2 separate regions of the Homo sapiens genome follow, and region 1 is linked to region 2. The links are contacts of gene promoters, found by promoter capture Hi-C in blood cells and fetal thymus (Javierre and others, 2016). All regions are on one chromosome and are shown on one strand. The core of a region is centred on a gene start or on the middle of the fragment in contact, and the rest is flanking DNA. Distances in the headings are between cores, read along the strand shown. Region 1 overlaps RB1CC1 (RB1 inducible coiled-coil 1). Region 2 holds the start of LYPLA1 (lysophospholipase 1).

The links. The method cuts DNA at HindIII sites, captures the fragments that hold promoters and counts their contacts. A CHiCAGO score of 5 or more calls a contact.
Region 1: a contact is called between a fragment that was not itself captured here and the fragment with the promoter of LYPLA1 in region 2, in 5 of 17 cell types (fetal thymus, total CD8 T cells, activated CD4 T cells and 2 more). The highest score is 12.5, in fetal thymus.

The regions. Positions count from the first base shown.
Region 1 is chr8:52,710,116-52,713,947 of GRCh38, reverse strand. All of the region lies in intron 1 of RB1CC1 (RB1 inducible coiled-coil 1), which reads left to right. Among named protein-coding and RNA genes, the nearest start is that of RB1CC1, 2.4 kb to the left of the region's middle. RefSeq lists a silencer at 1-58. The HindIII fragment of the contact is 3,105 bases long and covers 864-3,832 here.
Region 2 is chr8:54,099,782-54,103,418 of GRCh38, reverse strand. LYPLA1 (lysophospholipase 1) reads left to right here and starts at 1,472. Exons shown (of 9, transcript NM_006330.4): 1 at 1,472-1,664; 2 at 2,480-2,511. The coding sequence starts at 1,596. LYPLA1-TCEA1 (LYPLA1-TCEA1 readthrough) reads left to right here and starts at 1,472. Exons shown (of 21, transcript NM_001425842.1): 1 at 1,472-1,664; 2 at 2,480-2,511. RefSeq lists a silencer at 1,349-1,918. The HindIII fragment of the contact is 1,923 bases long and covers 214-2,136 here.

The DNA of each region.
Region 1 (3,832 bases), core at 1,167-3,666, 1.4 Mb after region 2:
GGTGTGTGCACGGGAGGGCCCCGGCGCCTCCCGCCCCGGCAGGTGTTGCCCACTGGCCGCTTTCCCGGCGCGACAGCCCCTGTGGAGACAAAAGCGGTTCGAGTCGATGCTCCACTAGGCTGCCGGAGGTGTGGGTCGGACTCGTGCTGCGGGGCTGCCTGCGGCTTCCTCGGCCGGAGCCTTGGGATCCCTCCCTCTGCGCTGCCGCTTAGTACCCGGCCTAGTTGCCGGAGTGGCCGAGGGCGAGGGACGTCCGAACCTCCCAAGACGCATCTTGACTTGTGCTCATCGCTGCCAGGGATCAGCCCTTAATTCTGTGTTGGACTCGAGAAACGGGAGAGTGGAGTTTGGCCGAGGCCGAACGAAGCTCACCGAATGGGAGGAACGGAGAGATGATGTCTTTGTCCCGACCCCAGAGTGCGAGGATCGGTATAAAGTTACTCCTAGGAATGACTCAGCCTGCGCCCGCCCCACGGATAGATTTGGGATGGGTGTGCACGCGGATTTCACAGCTTCCTTGGTAGAAACAAAAATACATTAACCAACAGTAGAAATAGCAGCTTCTGAATGGAATATCTCTATAGTTTCTTCCACCGCCTGGTGGATGTGCTGTGTTTACTGTTTATGGTTTCGTAATCTAGTCGTTTCCATCATGACTCTTTAAAGTGTGGTCATACCTTGAAGTAGTGTAGACTTGGCTGCCAAGGAAGACTCATGTGCTCACTGTTGATAAAGAGTCACGTTACTACGAGACATTCAGCCAGATGGGAATGTTCTCAAGTCTGCTGCAAACATTTAAAGTGTACCTATTTGCTAACTATTTTATTGTGTAGTTTCTTAAGTTTTTGTGTTTTGGTGAAGCTTGTATGATTTATACATAAGTTTGGACAGTTAGCAATTTAGGAAGAGACTTAAGTAGACTTAATTGTGTGTTTAATCAAGAATGTTATTACATTGTGATAGACGATAAAAAGAGGGTCCTTCCACTTCTGATCAGATAAAACTGTGAGAAACCAAGGAACTACTGAGGGAGGTGGCTGATTTTAGTTTTTGGATTATTGGATTTATAAGCAGACCATTGCTAGGAATGTGAAAATATGTTCGCTTTTTATATTTGTTGTAACAGAATATGGCCCTAATGAAGATATTTTCTCAATAACATTCCTGTCATGTCTTTTAATGTTTGTGATTGTGTTCAAAACCTGGATAAAGTTTTATGTCAGGGATGCTTTAGGCACATAATGCTTACGTTGAGAAACCTCTGTTGATGGAAAGTGGATATTGACATAGTTCATATTTTTAAAGTAATTTTATTTAGTCTATTTTGAACTTTTTATGGTAATCAAGATATGATTATTTATGTACCTAATCCTTTATATGTTTGTTATTGGACGACAGGGAAGACAATGAAGCGGTACTTTTGTCCCTGAGTTTTTTTTTTTTTTTTTTTTGGCTCTTGCTGCCAAACACAAGATCAGGATGCATGGCAGATTTACTTTAGCAAATCAAGTTCATAAAGGCAGAAGACACAAGACTTTTGTTTTCGAAATTTTGAACCTAAATTTTGATTATGTTAGCCTGAGAAAAGTTTTTAGACTCTAATATTAACTTAAAATTTTATATCATACATTCAGCAGATATTTGAGCACCTACATGCTTTACTTTGCAGATGTGTATGTCTTATGAATATCTTTTTAAAAGAATGGCTGATAAAATTTTCTCATTCAGGTAATGATATTTTCTGACTCCAGTTACACTTTTCTTTTGTAGTAATACTGGCCTAAGACACTTTGAAAATCTAGCAGTCCCTTTCAACACACTTTCACGATTCTTTTATTATCTTTTTACCACTGTGAGGTTTTTGAACTAGTTACATGAGGAACATAAAAATGTTTAAGTAATTGTTCTTGAGTAGAGACGGGGTTTTACCATGTTGGCCAGGCTGGTCTTGAACTCCTGACCTCAGGTGATCTGCCTGCCTCGGACTCCCAAAGCCCGGCCACTGATTGCCTTTTGAATAAAGGCCCAAGAGAAGTAAGGGGTGTAAGTGTGTGACTCTCGAAAGGAATTTTTGGCAGAAGAAACAGTAAATGGAAAGGCTCTGATATACATGGCATATACCAAGAAAAATGAAGTTACTGAAGCTGGACTGGTATGAGAGAGGCGATAGTAATGGTAGATTGTGGGGCTCTACATATTCAGGTTTGGAAGTCATAGTAAGGAAACTAATGTGCTCTAACTCACAAAGGTCTACAGATGAATTCAAGTAAACCCAGCATGGCTGGAAAGCAGTTGAAGCCAAATTCACTTCATTTATTCCTGAAATGCTAATTGAACCCCTGCAGCATACTCTTTTAGCTTCAGCAATGCAACAGTGAACAAGAAAGACATATCTGTCTATGTATATATATTTATTTATAGGAAATGGGTAACCACTGGAAATTTTCATGGAGGTAAATGACAAACGCAGATTACTTTGAGGATGTAGAGTAGATAAAAGGCTAGCTAAGCCGATTGTATAGTGCTAGGTTGATGAGTTTTTGCTTAACTCACATAGATAAAAGGATGTGAAGATTACTTGTCTCTGATTATTTATTATGGACCAAATCAACTTAATTTGACTGTAAACTGTACCCCCATTGTTTAGGGTCCTGAGAGGATGGCATTTCTTTCTATCCCTTTGTAAAGTTCCGGTTCTGTTGGATTACTTTTTGTAAGTGCAGTACTTGAATGCCTCCAAGTACCCTCTTTCCTTGGCTAATTTGTTTCTGCTTTCATGGCTGTTTAGTGAGTGCTTTGAGGATTGTGGAATAACAATCCTCGCCCATTTTTTTTCATCCATGATTTTTTTCTACCCGTTAGTTTGCTCTTTTGAACTCTCATATTTTATTGGCTTGTAATTGTGCTAGGAGATAAAAATAATTGTGTTCCATTTCCTTTTTTTGTCACTGATTTGAGACTGTCCACTCATTTTTCCTTCACATTCCACACATTATACTTGTTCAGTAACTGTCCAGCATACCTGTTGAAATATTAATTCAATACCATATTATATTACAGTAATATAACGGCTTTTAGTAATTGTTTTACTGCAAATACCAGATTTGGGCAGGCTGGTTTAATAATTTGGTTATATGTTTATAGATAATCTTGGTTTAATAGAATGCAGCTAATTCTACATTTTCTTTTTTTTCCCCATTTTCCCTGTCTTATATAATTCTATATTTGCTATATAGATAATTTTGGTTTTACTGTTAGTTTCCGTTATAAAATAAAACACAACTAGAAAATTTTCACTAAAATCATGCATTTTATGTAGTTTTTATAAACGATAGGGACACCAAAATGTGTAATGCATTTATATGTACTGATACAGAAAGATTTCTGTTATTTTATGCAGTTCAAGCAAAGTCCATAGTAGTATGTAGGGTGTCACCTCATTTTTATAAAACCATATTGCCTGAATATACACATATTTCCTGTACACCTAGGGAAAAAAACCTGAAGGGTGTACTCCAAAGTATTTTTCATTTTTGTTTTAAAAGTATTCCTGTTCTGCTATTTTTACCTCATTTGCTGTCTTTGGGCACTACCTTTCTAAATGCTCGCTTCATTCTTTTGGCGAAGTTGCTTGTCTAGTTTGTAGACAAGGCGTATATTTAGGAAGTCTGAACTTTTATGAAAAAGGTTTTCTTTCAGGGAAATGTGAGGAAAATGCCTGACCTACTCATCTTTCATTCTTTTTCTTGGCAGAGAAGGGGTAGGATCAGATTAGAATACATCTGATTTGGGGAGACTGATGCCCAGTTTTCAGTCCCTGGGCAACCTAGAC
Region 2 (3,637 bases), core at 223-2,722:
TGAAGGTCAGGGCATTTTGGCTTTAAGTGTTTCTATCTTGTGCTCTCTTCCAGATCTTACCATGTAGTTGATATGCAACACATTTGTTGAGTAACTACATTTTAGGCCATAAAGGCACCTGTGCAGAAAAGGGCAGTCTAGTCTCATGCTTATGTGTCCAGAGTTGGTTCCTTCCGGTGGGTTCATGGTCTCGCTGACTTCAAGAATAAAGCTTGTCACCTTCGTGGTGAGTGTTACAGTTTTTTTTTTTTTTTTTTTTTTTTTTTGAGACAAGGTCTCTCTCTGTCTCCCAGGCTGGAGTGCAGTGACGCGATCTCAGGTCACTACAAGCTCTGCCTCTCAGGTTCACGCCATTCCCCTGCCTCAGCCTCCCAAGTAGCTTGGACTACACGACCGGCCAATTTTTTTTTTTTGTATTTTTAGTAGAGACGAGGTCTCACCGTGTTAAGGCAGGATGGTCTCGATCACCTGACCTCCTGATCCACCCGCCTCGGCCTCCCAAAGTGCTGGGAGTGTTACAGCTCTTAAAGGTCCCACAGACCCAAAGAGTGAGCAGCAGCAGCAAGATTTATTGTGAAGAGTGAAAGAACAAACTTTCCACAGTGTGGAAGGGGACCCAGGGCTGCCACTGCCAGCTAGGGGATGGGGGGCGTGGCCAGCTTTTATTTCCTTATTTGTCCCGGCCCAAGTCCTGCGGATTGGTCCACTTTACAGAACACTGATTAGCCCGTTTTACAGGGTACTGATTGGTGCATTTTACAAACCTCTAGCTAGCCACAAAGTGCTGATTGGTGCATTTTACAATCCTAGCTACAGAGTGCTGTTGGTACATTTTACAATCCTCTTGTAAGACAGAAAAGTTCTCCAAGTCCCCAACCGACCCAGAAGACCAGCTGGCTTTACCTCTCACTTAAACCTGTACTGTGTCAATATCCGTACATCAGTAAGTGTTGTCGATCAAGTTAGGGAAGTAGTGGATTTCTGGTGACAAATGTTACCCTTTCCAACTAAAGTTTAAAGAAGGTAAGTTGAACCCAAATCTACATACTGCTGTAGCCCCAAACGGAAATACTGCAAAAGCTCCATCAACGTCTCCCAGTCCATCCAGACTTTTACAAATGGATAGACCCCGGCCGCAGGAAACCAAGGAGCACCTGGGGTTGGGTTGGGTGAATTGGCTCTGGGGCTCATTCTTTTCACTACAGCGCCAGAAAAGCAAAAACCTAAACCAAGACCCAAGAGACCAGCCCTCAGCCTGCACCTGAGAGCACATTTTCCCTAGCCAGCACTGAGCATGCGCAGGCTGCGTGGTGTGGCGAAAGCGCAGCCAGGTCCGCGCTGCCGCCGCAGCCAATCGGAGGGAGGGAGCCGCCCGGACATTGTGAGGTGCCGAGGGAGGGGCGGCGGGCGAGGGGCAGGGCAGGGCGGACCCTGGACGCGCGGGCGCGCGCGGAAGGTAGCGCGGGGCCGCGTTGGCGCGCACGCGCCTGAGCGTGCGCCCGGTGGGGCCGGCCGGGACTCGCCGCTCGCACGCCCTTGGGCCGCGGCCGGGCGCCCGCTCTTCCTTCCGCTTGCGCTGTGAGCTGAGGCGGTGTATGTGCGGCAATAACATGTCAACCCCGCTGCCCGCCATCGTGCCCGCCGCCCGGAAGGCCACCGCTGCGGTGAGTGGCGTAGGCGTGGGCTCGGAGGGGTCCACTGGGCCGGCCACCGGTGGTTGCCCCTCGCGCGGGGTGGGCGTTGCGGGCGCGTGGCGGCCTGCGGACGAGGACGCTCCTCCCGGCCCGGGTGGGGTGCGAATGGTCCGCGCGGCCGGGTCCGCGGGGGGCGGGGGCAGCCGGGGGGTCACAGCCGGCGCGAGGGCCAGTCCCCAGCTCCTCCCTGCATTGCGGAGGAAGTGTGGCCCCGGGACCCCCGCGGGCCGGCCTAGGGCACGGCGTCAGCCTCTGCAGCGTGTTTCTGCCTGGTGTGTGGGTGAGGGAAACCTAAGTCCGCCAGGAAATCGCCTTATTGTCACCTCGCACTCTTATCCTCAATGAAAGAAGTTTGAAGATTGAGTGTCCTACAAGGTCAGACGTACTGTTTTTTAGAAAACTCGTGTATGAAAAGTCAAACTTATTTTTGCCTCCGGAAGCTTGCTTTTGCAGTGGAAAAATTCTACAGGATATGTGAGATGTTCCTGATTTCACTTGAAAGAGATAAACTGTTTTTCTTAGAATGTGATCATTTGCACTCAATGTCTAACTGGGACCTCTCAGTGCTACCCCCCCCCCATTCATTATCTCAGGAAATAAAGGGAGAAGTTGATCAGAATTTTTGCCATTTAAAAGAGGTCGATAAAGATTAAGTCGCCGAAGATAGTGTTGTGTAATTCTCTCGTAGGTTTCGTTCCGTTTTCCACCTTAAGCAAAGCTAGTGTGTAACAATCCTGTGTGGGCTTATTTAGGCATTGCTTATTAATTTTCCTCTTCTCTTATAGGTGATTTTCCTGCATGGATTGGGAGATACTGGGTAGGTACCATTATTATTAATAGTAACAGTAATGAAACTGGGTCATGCAACTTTTGTTTACGCGTTCAAAGGTTTAATGTTTAAGGGCGCTAAAATGGTATTTTAAGATTGCCAGTTAATGTATCTTACAGTGCGGTGATTTTATGTTTTGAAAACCCTCAGAATTTTCCCCTTATCATCGTGAGTTTATTGATTTTTTAACTCTGGTTTCTGGAACATATTAAAATTTCAAATTCCTCATTAGTTGCTTTGGGTATTGGATACCAGAGATCCGTGGAATGTTAGTAGGGACGGTGTGCAATTGAGAGCTTTCCAGAGCAGTTAAAATTTCAGAGCAGATTGAAGAGAAGAACTAGTTGATTTTGATAAGAGAACTAGTGGCAACATAAGGCATGCAGCATTCTGAATAGAGGGATTAGATGTTCACTCTAATGAGTTGAAAGGCAGGGGAGGCAACTCAAAGATTTATTTGGAGGCTTATCAAACAATTTGTTGTACTAACTACTTATTTTTATTTTATTTTTTGTTTGTTTGCTTTTTTCTTTTGTTATTATTTTTAGAGACAAGGGCTCTCTCTGTCGCCCAGGCTGGAGTGCAGTTGCAGGATCTTAGCTCACTGCAGCTTTGAACTCCTGGGCTCAAGTGATCCTTCAGCCTCAGCCTCTCAAAGCACAGAGATTAGAGGTGGGAGCTGCCTGAGCCTGGCCTTTTGTACTAACTTTAGATACATGATTTATCTTTTACTCAAGCTTTTTCTATATTGAGATGTTTTTGTTTTTATATTTAAATTGGTGATAATCTGTGAAACTTAAGCAAAATATGAATGTTGTTGAAAAATTGCAGAAATAGAGGAAAACTGAAGATAAATAAATTTTGATAAAGTAGCCCCAGAACGACTAAATTTTCTTTAAAATGAACCATTGGGGCCGGGCGCGGTGGCTCACACCTGTAATCCCAGCACTTTGGGAGGCCGAGGTGGGTAGTTCACTTGATGTCAAGAGTTCGACACCAGCTTGGCCAATATGGTGAAACCCCATCTCTACTAAAAATATAAAAATTACCCGGGTGTGGTGGTGCATGCCTGTAATCCCAGCTGCTAGGGAGGCTGAGAGAAGAGAATCACTTG